Linked DNA regions of Homo sapiens: region 1 is linked to region 2. The links are contacts of gene promoters, found by promoter capture Hi-C in human tissues and cell types (Jung and others, 2019). All regions are on one chromosome and are shown on one strand. Each heading gives the region's core, a stretch centred on a gene start or on the middle of the fragment in contact. The rest is flanking DNA. Distances are from core to core; before and after follow the strand shown.

The links. Contacts are between HindIII fragments. The study calls those that stand out against the background at their distance.
Region 1: a fragment that was not itself captured here is called in contact with the fragment with the promoter of VPS26A in region 2 in 1 of the 25 tissues and cell types used here (heart right ventricle).

Annotation. Positions count from the first base shown.
Region 1 is chr10:70,089,205-70,096,486 of GRCh38, forward strand. It overlaps MACROH2A2 (macroH2A.2 histone), which reads left to right. Exons shown (of 9, transcript NM_018649.3): 3 at 856-962; 4 at 2,553-2,750; 5 at 4,531-4,641; 6 at 6,450-6,549. Among named protein-coding and RNA genes, the nearest start is that of AIFM2, 40 kb to the right of the region's middle. RefSeq lists an enhancer at 1,834-1,978 and a cis regulatory region at 1,899-1,912. The HindIII fragment of the contact is 5,418 bases long and covers 1-4,578 here.
Region 2 is chr10:69,122,487-69,129,844 of GRCh38, forward strand. VPS26A (VPS26 retromer complex component A) reads left to right here and starts at 1,692. Exons shown (of 9, transcript NM_004896.5): 1 at 1,692-1,794. The coding sequence starts at 1,792. RefSeq lists enhancers at 926-1,285, 2,150-2,656 and a silencer at 1,546-1,945. The HindIII fragment of the contact is 17,457 bases long and covers 1-7,358 here.

The DNA of each region.
Region 1 (7,282 bases), core at 620-3,119, 970 kb after region 2:
CACAGACTGAGAGGAATTTAGGTTCTATAGCAGGATTCTGTATTGGTCAGGATTCACTTCTATAGACAGTGGCTTCAACAAGAGAGTTTATTTCACTCTCATACAAAAGAAGTCTAGAAAAGACAGTCTAGATTGGTAGAGACTCAGTTTCCTTCTGTGCTCTTGCTCTAGCATGCACAACTTCTTCTTCTTGGTCAAAGATGGCTGCCCAAATTCCAGCCATCGTGTCCTCAGCCCACCATTAGAAAGGAAAGAAGGGCACAGCCCCTTCATTGATGGACACTTCCCAGAAGGACCAGAAAACACAATGGCTTGCCTTCTTTGGCCAAATATTGGTCACAGAACCACACTTATCAAGGGAAATATAGTTTTCCTGCAGTTATGGGCTTGGCAAAAAAAATCAGAAGTCCTGTACCAAGGAAGAAGAGGAAGAGGGAGAACTGATGCTGAGGGACAACCAGGAGGCTTTGCCACAGGATCGGATAACATCTTGCTAAAATAGCTTACTTCTCTGTGACCTGACTTATTTTTTCTTTTTTTAAATTTTTTAATTTTTTTAAATTTTTTTTTTAGAGACAGGGTCTCACTCTGTTGCCCAGGCTGGGGTGCAGTGGCACAATCATAGCTCACTGCAGCCTTGAACTCCTGGCTGGGCTCAAGCGATCCTCCTGCCTCGGCCTCCTGAGTAGCTGGGACTAACTTGAGTTCTCTTACGCTTCCTGGATTTCTTTCCAGGCCGAGACATAGAAATCACAAATGAATGAATGTGATCAAACTTGAAGGCCATTTCTAAAGAAAAGCTTTAGCTCAGACCCCATTCTGTGATTGCCTGTTAATGCCTCCTTGTGATTTCAGCGGAAATTCTAGAATTGGCCGGCAATGCCGCGAGGGACAACAAGAAGGCCCGGATAGCCCCGAGACACATCTTGCTGGCAGTTGCCAATGACGAGGAGCTCAACCAGGTATGTCTGAAGCCTTGAGGGAAGCCGTAGAATGGGTTTGCCAAACATGCTAATGTGTGGGCCTGGCTGGCCATGAGTCACTCCTGCTACAGTTCCCAATTACATTTATACAAAAAAAACTCAGGCCATATAAAAGAACAAATTCTGCTAGCTCTTATCATTCAGATTCAAAATAAAATTGCCTCTGGCATAGATCTCATTATATATTCTAGGTCTTATCAGACCTTTCTTTTCTCTTTGAAGACAAGTTCTGTGTGTTGCTGAGGAAGGTGTGGCACAAATGTTATTCTCTTCACTTTCTTCACCCAAACTTAGTTGACAGTTTTTTCTGATGAAGGCAGAAGACTCTTTATATTTTAGAACTGACTGTTTATATTCTGAAACTGACTCCAAAGTCAAGCGAATACCCCCTTTTCACCTACAGTATATGTAAGGTGGTAGGTAAATAGTATAAGAATTTTTATTTCTGTTTCTTTTCATTTATCTTTATTTTCTAATCTCACTCTTCTCAAACTGTAGTGAAGAAGCCATTTTTATGGCCAATCCATCATGGACTGATAATTTCCAGAAATGTAATAAAAATCACTAGAAAAATTAAAAAGCAAACTACAAGCCATAATTTTTTGTTATCAGATTCAACAGATATACAATAACTGTCAGTTTGCTGTGAAAGTTTCTAGATGCTTGCTATACTTCTGTTGTCACTGACGGGTAACTACCAGTTCATGGGTGAGCCATGGTCGCAGACCATGCTTGGGGTAGTGTTGGTTTCGAATCTGCAGAATATATTAGTGGAGTAGTACGTGTCTGTTCTTTGCAGATAAATTAACTTATATTGATTGGGAGGAGCATGGCCAGACATACTTTACTGATGGAATGTATGTGCAAGCTTGTGGAGACCACTGGTTCATCATTAACTGGGTCTAGTCTTTGCAATGACCTTTGAACATCATTTTCTCAAGCTGCGCTCCCCACATGGGAAGCTTTTTATCCTGTGTTGTGTCTGGAATTCCAGAGCCCTGGGCAACATCCCTGGTTTCAACTTCTGTGTCCCTTCTATTTTGCTTTACTTCGTTTTGCTTTCTGTACAACATCACAGGATGCCTTGTTAACCTACGGAGAAATGCTCTACAACTGAAAGTGGGAAAAGCCAATTAAATGGTGTATTACGCAGTTTCTTTAGGAAAGCGGAGGCCACATTTAACAGTTAGAACCGTATTAAGTCCAGGCCAGGCACAGTGGCCCACGCCTGTAATCCCAGCACTTTGGGAGGCCAAGGCAGGTGGATCACCTGAGGTCAGCCGTTCGAGACCAGCCTGGCCAACGTGGTGAAACCCTGTCTCTACTAAAAATACAAAAATTAGCCGGGGTGGTGGCAGGTGCCTGTAATCCCAGCTGCTCAGGAGGCTGAGGTAAGAGAATTGCTTGAACCTGGAGGCGGAGGCTGCAGTGAGCCAAGATCGCGCCACTGCACTCCAGCCTGGGTGACAGAGTAAGATTCTGTATCAAAAAAAAAAAAAAAAAAGAACTGTATGAAATTGGGAACTAGCAGGCTGTTTGCTACATGAGCGCATGCATTTCTCTCTTCAGCTGCTAAAAGGAGTGACCATCGCCAGTGGAGGCGTCCTGCCCAGAATTCACCCCGAACTGCTGGCCAAAAAGCGAGGGACCAAAGGCAAGTCGGAAACGATCCTCTCCCCACCCCCAGAGAAAAGAGGCAGGAAGGCCACGTCAGGCAAGAAGGGGGGGAAGAAATCCAAGGCTGCCAAACCACGGACGTCCAAAAAGGTAGGCCGAGGCTGCGTGTCCTGGGCCAGGCACTCCCACTGCAATGGTCTGAATGTCTGTGTTCCCCCACAATTCATATGTTGAAACCTAACCCCAGAGGCATAGGATTACAAGGTGTGGGCTTTGAGAGATAACTAGATCATGAGGGCGAGTCCTCACGAATGGGAACAGTCCCCTTATAAAAGAGGCCTGAGGGAGGCAGAGGGACCCTTCTGCCATGTGAGGACACAGCTAGAAAGCGTCATCTACCAGGAAGTGAGCCCTTGCCAGACACAGAACCTGCCTGCGCCAAGGACTTCCTGCCTCCGGAACTATGAGAAACAAGTTTCTGGGCCAGGCACAGTGGCTCATGCCTGTAATCCCAACACTTTGGGAGGCCGAGGCAGGAGGATGGCTTGAGCCTAGGAGTTAGAGGCTGCAGTGAGCCATGATGGCACCACTGCACTCGAGCCTCGGTGACAGCGCAAGACCCTGTCTCTTAAACAAACAAAAAAAAAAGAAAGTGGTTTCTGTTGTTTGTGAGCCAGCCAGTCTATAGCATTTTGTTAGAGCAGCCCAGGCAGACACTAAGACGCTCACAGAACAGGAGGGAAGTTTAAAGATGAGACAATGACTTCGTAGCAGACACCTCTGAAGGACCGAGGACTCTTGCAGCTTGGTGCCGGAAGAAAATGACAAGAATGTACAGGTAAAAGAATAAAGGGCCTTTGAGGTTAGAGCTGAAATGGGTCTTCTCTAGGTTTCCAAACCCTAAGCAGGGATGGTTTTCAGATCCCTTTTACTACCCCCAGCAAAATCTGAAGTGAGCGATGATAGCCAGGAACCTGCATTTTATTTCTCTGCAGAGCTCTGTGTTGCCTTCCAAACAGCCTCTAGTCTCCTGCAGGCATTCCCTGAGTTCCGCCAGTGGAATTTCAGGTGTTTGGCATATACTTGATATACTAGGTGTTTGGGTTAGCTTGATATACTAGGTAGCTTAGCTCAGAGATGCCACTGATAGAATAATGTTTTCCTATGTTGCCCAGTACAGTAACCACTGGTCACATGTGGCTTTTTTTTTTTAAGAGACAGGGGTCTCACTCTGTCACCCAGGCTGGAGTACAGTAATGCAGTGGCGAGATCATAGCTCACTGTAGCCTCAAACTCCTGGGCTCAAGCGACCCTCCTGCCTCAGCCTCCCAAAGCATTGGAATTATAAGTGTGAGCTAAGGCACACAAGCCAAGGCTATTTGGATTTGAATTAAAACTAAATCAAATTTAAAATTCAGCTCCTTGATTGTACCAGCCACATTTCAAGCACTCAGCAACATTATTGAGGATCAAGATGAATATTTCCACGATCACAGAAAGTTCTATTGGACAACCCTACTGTAGAAGTTGTGGATGTTTCATTCCACACTGCCTCTGTGCCCCGAGAAATCCTGGGGAGAAAGAAGGCTAAGCAATGGGCTATCAACGGCCCCACCCAGCTCCGATGCTTGTCGTCGTGAGCTGCAGGCATTGAAATGAGCAAGGACAATGTGCTGGTGCACAGGGGTAGGTGAGGACTGCAGGTATGTGTGAGCCCTTTAACACACTTTCTATTTTGCTATTTTGCGGTACCCTTTTCTTTCCTTATATTGCTGACTTTTGCTCCCCTCCTTCAAGAAACAGCAGAACACATCACCTAACCACTTCCTTTCATATTCAACTTGGTGGCAGCCGTGAGAAGAGCTTAATAAAGGCACCTCAGGCTTTTTCTGGATTGGTTCTCATCTTGCCTTTTGATTTTTACCGACAGTCCAAACCAAAGGACAGCGATAAAGAAGGAACTTCAAATTCCACCTCTGAAGATGGGCCAGGGGATGGATTCACCATTCTGTCTTCTAAGAGCCTTGTTCTGGGACAGAAGGTAACAAAGAGAATTGCCTTGTGCTATATTAAAACACCACTGTATTTTTATAACCTACTGTTTACAAGCAATGATGCCTCCTTTCCTCCCCTGATAATGATTTTCACTGCAGTCTTGAATTATTCATTTTTAAACTAAAGAGCTGTGGCAGTGTCAGCATTGTGAGAGTGAGAATTGTTCTTTTTTGCTGAGAATTGTTAACGCTAACATTGGTCAGACAAGGGTGAGCATGGAAGCTCTTTCTGGTCAGTAGATAGGATGGCATTACTGGTTTTGCTGGGAATTCCCCACACCCCAGTTATTTCTACATCTGCCAAAAAAAAAATCCATAGCTAACTTTCTCAGACAGCTTCTGAGAGGCCCATCTTACATGGTTCAATGTAATTTATCAAAGAAAGAAAATAGAAATATATGTTTCCCAAATATCCTTGGTATTAGAAATGAATTATTTGCCAATAATTCAGTCTGCCTGCCTTCCTAGGCTTTAGAAAGTAAACAAACAGGGCTATGCATTTGAACAGTCTTCAGCAACACAACAGCAGCCCAACCAGACATGCAAATAATTCATTCCTACAAGTGTAAAGTTTACTGAGCAGACAATTTATCTACCAAGTCAACTGGGGCTGAAATAAGACACCCAAGGAAAGAGTCAGTTAATCATATCTCTGGTAGCTGAATGTTTCCATCTTGACAACACAGTAAGCCTCCATTCAAAGAATTGGGAAGAGTATGTTCTAAGAAGAGCATCGGTGTGGCTGGTTGCTAATTCGTCACTGATGAAAGCAGGGAAACAAAGAGGTGGAATTTATGTCCCCTCTCTGGCCTGTTCACTGTTACATGACGATTAGCTTTCTCTCACTTAGCTAAGGCAACATAAAGGTCTTGCTCACATGGGCCAACAATAGAGAATGCCCTCCATTCCACTCTACTGTGAACACATAGGATAGCAATTCCCAATGGTAGCCCCAAGACTGTGGTCTCCAAAGGGCAAGGGAGCCAGACACCCCCAGGTCAGAATCCCAGAGCCCATTACTTCTCTCCAGCAAGGTTATTGGCTTCAGAGCCCTGCCCCACAGATTTTGTGTTCTTCTAGGGAGAATGCAGGATGCTGAGGGGAGAAGAGAGAGCAAGCCCTGGGCTTCCTTGCAGGAGCTTCTCAGAAGATGCATCACTGAAAACTAAGGCCACCAGGGTTGGGAACCAAAGGCATGAGCTGTAAGGGAAAGAAAGAAAGGAGAGGGGGCCAGGCGCGGTGGCTCACGCCTGTAATCCCAGCACTTTGGGAGGCAGAGGCGGGTGGATCAAGAGGTCGGGAGATCAAGATCATCCTGGCTAACACGATGAAACTCCGTCTCTACTAAAAATACAAAAAATTAGCTGGGCATGGTGGCGGGCGCCTGTAGTCCCAGCTACTCAGGAGGCTGAGGCAGGAGAATGGCGTGAACCTGGGAGGCAGAGCTTGCAGTGAGCCGAGATCACGCCACTGCACTCCAGCCTGGGAGACAGAGTGAGACTCCGTCTCAAAAAAAAAAAAAAAAAGAGAGGGGAGGCCCTGTTCCTGTTCCAGGGAAGAAGAAATGGATTTGTTGCATGCTGCCAGCCCCAGAGTGGAAAGCAAATCCACTGAGCTCAAAGAGCTTATTGCAAGCCAAACACCTGGGAAACTGGAGGTTGTCACTCTCTATGCAGCCCCTATGTTGACATTGGGTATGAATAATTAAAGAGAATTAATGAATGCAAGTAAAATATGAGATTTTTCAACAGAATTTTATCTTTTCCACATTCACCACCTTTTCTTCCTAATGCAGCTGTCCTTAACCCAGAGTGACATCAGCCATATTGGCTCCATGAGAGTGGAGGGCATTGTCCACCCAACCACAGCCGAAATTGACCTCAAAGAAGATATAGGTAAGGTCCTGAGACTTCAGTAGAAGTGCCATAGAATAGGCCACTGTTCAGGCAAGTTCTTGTGAAGCTGATCATTGTCAACTGGCTGTCCCTCCGCTGGGGTCCCATGTCAAGCTCTGTCTTTATGTGTAGTTGAACAGTTTCACTAGAGAGAAGCTAACTTTGTTTTAATTCTGCATATATTTTTGAAATTTTTATTGGGGTATTGTGTAAAAGCAAATCATTAGCATAGAGCTTGATGAATTTTTCTCAAAGTGAACCCCACTTTGCAACCAGCACCAAGATCCTGAAGCAGACCCTTACCAGCACCCCAGAAGTCTCCCTCAGCCCCACTCCCAGTCAGTATTTCCTCCAAGGGTAACCACTGTCCTTTCTTATCAAAGCAGAGATGGGTTTCATCTGTCTTGAATTTTGTAAAAATGAAATCTTGTCCTCTTCTGGGTCCGACTCCTTTTGCTCAACTTAGTATTGTGAAATCTATCCATGTCGTTGAGTATGCTTGTATTCATTCATTTTCCTTGCTCTGTAGTATTACACTCTATAAATATATGACAGTTTATTGATCTATTCTACCACTGATGACATTTGGGGTAGTTTCCAGTTTGAGCTATAGTGAATAGTGCTACTATAAATATTGTTGTACATGTTTACATATATCGTAAGCTTAAATATTGAGAGTGCTATTGATAAAAGGGAAATGGACATCTAGAAAAAAATTAGATTGTCCATTAAG
Region 2 (7,358 bases), core at 442-2,941:
AGATGGAGTCTCGCTCTGTCACCAGGCTGGAGTGCAGTGGCGCAATCTTGGCTCACTGCAATCTCTGCCTCCTAGGTTTAAGTGATCCTCCTGCCTCAGCCTACCGAGTAGCTAGGATTACAGACGTGCACCACCATGCCCCGCTGATTTTTGTATTTTTAGTAGAGACGGGGTTTCGCCATGTTGGCCAGGCTGGTCTCAAACTTCTGACCTCAAGTGATCCGTCCGCCTCGGCCTCTCAAAGTGCTGGAATTATAGACTGTGAGCCACCATGCCTGGCCCAAATATGTGCATTTAAAGCTACAAATTTTCCTTTTACACAGTGTCACTGCATTCCACAAATTTGATATGTTGTATTATTATCTTTTATTTCAAATTATTTTATTTTTATTATTTTTTATTTTTGAGACAGAGTCTTGCTCTGTCGCCCAGGCTGGAGTGCAGTGGCTCCATCTCGGGCACTGCAACCTCCGCTTCCCGGATTCAAGAGATACTCGTGTCTGACCTCAGGTGATCCACCTGCCTTGGCCTCCCAAAGTGTTGGGATTACAAGTGTGAGCCTCCGTGCCCGGCCTCAACTTATTTTTAAATTTCCATTGATCTCTTCTTTGACCTAGAGATTTGGAATTATGTTGCTTAATTTCCAATATTTCCGGAATTTTCTGGCTTGTTTGGGTTGATTTCTAATTTTAATTCTATTGCGGTTAGAGATGATACTCTGATTTCAATCCTCTTAAATTTGAGGCTCACACTGAGGATTAAGTATAAAAAAATTTTTTTTGATACCTGTTTCATGGACTCGCCTCACAAACTTCTGTTTTAAGGTGGGGTAATTATAGTGCGTTCAGGGATGGATTTTTCTTCTGCTTTGGTTATGCATAGAGTGCACTGTGGCCCTTCAACACTATACTCTGAAATCCCACACAGTATTTTCCTCATCTGGAGGTCCTATAGGCTTACACTAGGGAGGAGGATCCAGTTCAGGCCAGCGTAGTCTTCAGCTGCGCCGTGGGACTTTCGGGGGAGCGCCTTTGCCCTCTCAGAACGGCTGGGCGGAACGGTGGGTTTGTGAGCCCTCCAGGCTCAGGGTGGGTCGCTCAGGGGCCATCTGGGGACTTTGGGAAGCAATGAAAGTTGTACCCTAGGATTTTTTTCTACTGGTCTTCTCTTCAGAGGCGAGAAAGCCAAGTTAAGAAAACCCAGACTCAGAAGGAGGTGGAGCGGGACTGCGTTCAGGCAAGGTGGCAGAACGCCTCGCCGTGGACGAAGAGAGCACATCTCTTCTTGCGAGGCCTAAGGAAGTAGGGCTCCCACTCGCCTCGGCAACCCAAGGACCCAGCCAAGGAGAGAGCCTCCAGATGAATCCTTCCTCTCCTCCTTCCTTCCCAGCCGCTCAAACTTTCACAAAGAGGAACTGGGTGCGGTAAAGAGGCCGGACACGGAACCGCTCGTCCGGTGACCGAAGAGACGGCGAGGAGGAGCCCGCGAACCCGCCTCTGTTCAGGCCCCGCCCACTCGACGTAATTTGCCCGCCCCTCTCCACCCTCCGAAGGGTGGAGCCTGAGGCCCCGCCTCCAAGCGGCCTCTCCCCGGAGTGCCTGGCGGCCAGCAGGGCGGGGCAGGAGGCTGGGAGAGGGACGGGTGCGGGGGTGGGGGAGAGGAAGGGAGCGGTCACGTGTGAGGGGCGGCCCGAGGTCACGTGACGGAGCGCCGGAGCGGAGGGAGCCGGGGCTGGGAGTTCTCCTGAGGGAAGAGGAGTGGAGTAGGGGGGACGCGGCGGCGGCGTTGACAATGGTGAGTGCGCGGCGGCCAGCGCGCTCGCCTCCCGCCCTCGTCCCGGAGCGCGCGGCGGGCCGGCCAACCGCGGGCCGGGCGTCGCCGGAGGAGGGGACGGGGGAGCAGGGCGGGGAGCGGGGTTAGGCCTGTCGGGCCACCCCTGGGTCTGGGAAAAGCTGGCGGCGCCACCTCTTCCCGGTCTCGGCGAGGCCCGAGCACCTACGGGCGGCGGCGTGCTCTCCTGGCCATGTCGGAGCCTCTGCCCGCGTTCTTCGACTGCTTGTTGGGGCTCTGGCTGGGGACTCGGACCCCGCCTCTGCGGGGGCTGGTCGCCGCCTCCCCTTCCTAGGTAGCCAGTCCCTGTTCTCCTCCCGGGCAGCCTCTCTTCCATCCAGGTGGGGCGACCCGGGAGCCCCCCACCTCCGGACTCTTCGGGGGACTTGGGCACTCAGTGTGTCACGAACTTGATAAACTCTGATATTTTAAAACCTGACTATGGTGACATTCTTTGATTTCATGACCCCAGTTCAGGCTTTCTGTTGACACTTGTAAAATGGGAGAGAAAAATAAAAGGACGTTGGAATGGGGGATATCTTTAACTCCAGAGACACCCGTTTGGTGCCCGCCGTTTTAAGCATTGGCTCTCATTTCCGTCCGCAAGCTATTTCGCTGAACTTAACGCTCTGGGTTGTTGAAACGGCCTATGAGGCAGAGGAGGGAGGGGAATCAGTGCTCTCACCACAGTCCGCGGAAGCACTAGCCTGGGCATTGTGGTATTTAGCTGGGTGTCGGCAGTCTCTAGGTTAGATCTCATTTTACCCATTTTCTGGTAGTAGTCGTCAGTTCTCTTCATTTAGCGCCTACTGTATGCTCTCCTAATACTACCTGCTCTTCCCAAAGCTCACTGATTCAATAGACTGCTTGAGACTTTTGGCTTAAAAGGCCGAGCCAGGTATATTTTTAAAAAGCTACTTTGAATAAATAACTTTTAATTTCAGTAATGATGTTGCTTTCAAAACAAAACAAAACAAAATCCAGACATTCATGTTCATTCTTAGAGCTTTTTTTCTTTCATTCAACAAATAATTGCTCAGGTGTGCCTAGGGGACCCCAGTAAAATGGAAACAGCGCCTACCTGCTCTCGTAGCTTACAATGTAGGGAGAGATAAACATTTATTTGTGTAAATTATTTGTTTAACGTGGAAATTAGAATTGTGACAGATACTAAGAAGGAAGTATTGGGGGACCTTGCCTAGTCAGTGTTAGGGCAGGCTTCTTTAATTGAATATCATTTGAAAAGAAAACTTAAAAGGTCCTCCTATTTTTTGCTTACATTTGTAATTATTACTTTTAATACGCTTTTTTGAATTATGTTCAAGAGCAGTTTATATTTTCAAGTTACCCAAACAGAAACTAAATTGTAAAACTTTAAAACACTGAAATGGTCACAGATGTAATATATGTATGAAAATTTGCTGTTTCATTGCTTGTGTATGGGCTAAGTGAATGAATTTTGAGAGTCAGCCTTCCACCTCAGAAATGCAATGAGTTGCATTTCTTTACATCCACTGGACTTAGTGAAATTCCTTCAGTGGGGACTAAAAAGTTGCCTTTTTATGTATCTACCATGTATTTTTGCTAATTGGTAATGCTCAATATTGGGTTCAGAAATTATATGAAAAATCCTAAATTAACCTAAAGTCAGTGATAGGAGGTTTAGGCCAAGATTAGAAAACTATAAAAACAATTGCTAGCATGTTTTTATAGTCATATATATTGCAGTCCAGTTATTTAAAAGCTCAAGAGTTTTAACTTGCATATTAATAGTTAATCCTGAAAATCGCAATATTCCAAATGCGCCCTTGAAGATATCTTTACCAAAAGAAGTGAGTAGTATTTTTGCACTTAAAAGATCTCACGGGGTGCGGTGGCTCACACCTGTAATCCCAACAATTTGGGAGGCCGAGGTGGGCGGATCACCTTGAAGTCGGGAGTTTGAGACCAGCCTGGCCAACATGGCGAAACCCCGTCTTCACTAAAAATACAAAAACAAAAAAAAATTGGCCAAGTGTGGTGGCGCATTGCTGTAGTCCCACCTACTCGGGAGGCGGAAGTTGCCTGACCAACATGGTGAAACTCCGTCTCAACTAAAAATAAAAAAATTAGGTGTGGCGCACACCTGTAATCCCAGCTACTCAGGAGGCTGAGGCAGGAGAATCAATTGAACCCGGGAGGCAGAGGTTGCAGTGAGCCGAGATCGCGCTGCTGTACTCCAGCCTGGCGACAGAGTGAGACTCCGTCTCAAAAAAAAAAAAAAAAAAAAAAATCTCAAAACTGAATTGCTGTCTGCATCATATCCTAACCCTCAACAAATTTTATTCTCTTTCCTTCTAGTCTTTACCAGCTTGACAGTTGTGTATTTTACTTCCTCTTTAACATATCAGAAGTATTAGAATTTTATTTAGAATAATTAGAAAAAGAATTTAATTTCATTACCCTTTATTTCAAATGACAGAAGTTGCACATCTTAGAAAAAACTTTGAAAGAGAGACTTTGGGTAGAGATCTTTCTCTTTCAGTTCTTTCTAAAAGACAAGCTTTTTTCCTCAGTTATTTTTTTCTTTTTGTTCTCTACCTGTAAAATGTAAGATATCCACAATTTTCTGGAGGTGTTTTTTAGTAAGACTAGTTCTTTTATTATTATTATTATTTTTTGAGACGGAGTCTCGCTCTGTCGCCCAGGCTGGAGTGCAGTGGCGCGATCTTGGCTCACTGCAACTTCCGCCTCCTGAGTAGCTGGGACTACAGGAATGCGCCACCACACCCGGCCAATTTTTTTTTTTTTTTTTTTTTTTTGTATTTTTAGTGGAGACGGGGTTTCGCCATGTTGGCCAGACTGGTCTCAAACTCCTGACCTCAAGTGATCCGCCCGCCTTGTCCTCCCAAAGTGTTGGGATTACAGGTGTGAGCCACTGTGCCTGGCTGACTAGTTCATTTTCGATATGCCCTAATGTAAAAAAACTGAATGTTGGTCGGGCGTGGTGCACTTTGGGAGGCCGAGGCGGGCGGATCACGAGGTCAGGAGATCAAGAGCATCCTGGCTAACACGGTGAAACCCCGTCTCCACTAAAAATACGAAAAATTAGCCAGGCGCGGTGGCGGGCACCTGTAGTCCCAGCTACTCGGGAGGCTGAGGCAGGAGAATGGCATGAACCCGGGAGGCGGAGCTTGCAGTGAGCCGAGCTAGCGCCACTGCACTCCGGCCTGGGCGAAAGAGCGAGACTCCATCTCAAAAAAAAAAAAAACCTGAATGTTAACCCAATGCCATATTGTCATGGAATAACTGGTTAAAGTGCAGTAATTTATTACTCAACCTATTACTTTTTTGCATATGCTATACTAGGCTTTTTAAAAATGCCATTTGATTGCTTCCAATTTTAGTGTTTTGATTGTATTTAAAAATATCTTTTTTTTTTTTTTTTTTTTTTTTGAGACAAGCTCTTGCTCTGCCGCCCAGTCAGTGGCTTACTGCAGCCTCGACCTCCTGGGTTCAGCCTCCCAAGTAGCTGGGACTGCAGGCACACACCACTATGCTGGGCTAATTTTTTAAATTTTTGTAGATATGGGGGTCTAGCTGTATTGACGAAGCTGGTCTTGAACTTCTGGGCTCAAGTGATCCTCCTGCTTCAGCTTCCCAAAGTGCTAGGATTACAGGTGTGAGCCACTGTGTTCTGCTACTTTTTTTAAAATTATGAAATATTTCTTGCATCCAGAAAATAATAGAGGATAGCACGTAGTTTTTCACATATTTTTAATGGTTAGGAATTTAAATATTTAAGGAATGGTGTCAAAACACTGTTTATCATTATGGTGTTAATTGTGAAATTTTATAAAATGAACTTGGTTTATACCATTTTAATTGGTGGCAATTTTAGTTCTATCAAAATTTTATTTAACTTTGGGATTTGATTTTTTTTTTTTTTTTTTTGAGGCAGAATCTCACTCTGTCGCCCAGGCTGGAGTGCAGTGGCAAGATCTCGGCTCACTGCAACTTCTGCCTCCTGGGTTCAAGCGATTCTGCTGCCTCAGCCTCCCGCATAGCTGGGACTACAAGTGCATGCCACCACGTCTGGCAAATTTGTTCTGTTTTTGTAGAGATGGGGTTTCACCGTGTTAGTCAGGATGGTCTCGATCTCCTGACCTTGTGATCCTCCTGCTTCGGCCTCCCAAACTGCTGGGATTACACGCGTGAGCCACCGCGCCTGGCGATTTGATCTTTTAATGTCAGCTTTCAAATCCCAAGTGGAACTCTGTGTGTTTAGGTATATGCATGTGGAAAAAAGTTATAATATTTCCTTTTCTCTGTAAAACAATTTTTATAGTTTTCAAATCTCATTTTTCTTTTAAGTAGCTCTGGGAAGTGTCAGGAGGAATGAGAAAATTAATTTTAAGGCCAAGCAAGGTGGCTCACGCCTGTAATCCCAGCATTTTGGGAGGCTGAGGCGGGTGGATCACTTGAGCCCAGGAGTTTGCGCCTGGCCTGGGCAATGTGGCAGAAACCCTGTCTCTACAAAAAATATAAAAACGAGCCAGGTGTTGTGGCTCACGCCTGTAGTCCCAGCTACTTGGGAGGCTTGAGGTGGGAGGCTTGCTTGAGCCCATGAGGCAGAAGTTGCAGTCAGCTGAGATCATACCACTGCACTCCAGCCTGGGTGACAGAGTGAGACTCTGTCTCAAAAAAAAAAAAAAAAAAAAAAAAGAATTAATTTTAATTTTTCTATCTCTGTTTTATAACTCAAATGAGTTATAAATGTGGATGTCATAAGGAAGGAGAGCTCATTCTTATTGCTCTCTCTGCCAATTAGCATTATCCTTCAATATAACTGATTTTGTTTTCCATCTAAAATAGACTGCTACTTGAAGATGTTGTCTTCTACCCTTTCATGATTGCTCCTCCCACACAACCCCTGTACCCTGCTAGCTCAGCACATATTCGATTAGTAAATGTGAGCTGCATGATTTTAAGCTGCTATACATTCTCATTTCTGTAGCCCTTAGAGGAAATGTACTACAGTATTTCAGAATTTACCATTTTGAGTTTAAGACTTGGAGTACGAAAGCCACCTAGGAATGGACAGTGTGTGTGACCTATCACTGATGATTTTCATTCTCTTTTTTCTAAATTAGTTCAGAATAGTTTTCTGATTAAAATTAGTTTTCTGGTTAAAATTCGAGTTTGTTATTTGTAATTTTGCCAGAAAAGATTAAAACGTGTCAAAAAGAAAAAAAAATTTTTTTTTTTTTTAAACAGAGTCTCACTCTGTCCCGAGGGCTGGAGTGCAGTGGCGCGATCTCGGCTCACTGCAACCTCCACCTCCTGGGTGCAAGTGATTCTCCTGCCTCAGGTGCATACCACTACGCCCAGTTAATTTTTTGTATGTTTAGTAGAGACGGGGTTTCACCGTGTTAGCCAGGCTGGTCTCGAACTCCTGACCTTGTGATTCGCCCACCTTGGCCTCCCAAAGTGCTGGGATTACAGGTGTGAGCTACCGCGCCTGGCCCAAAAAGAAAATTTGCTACATA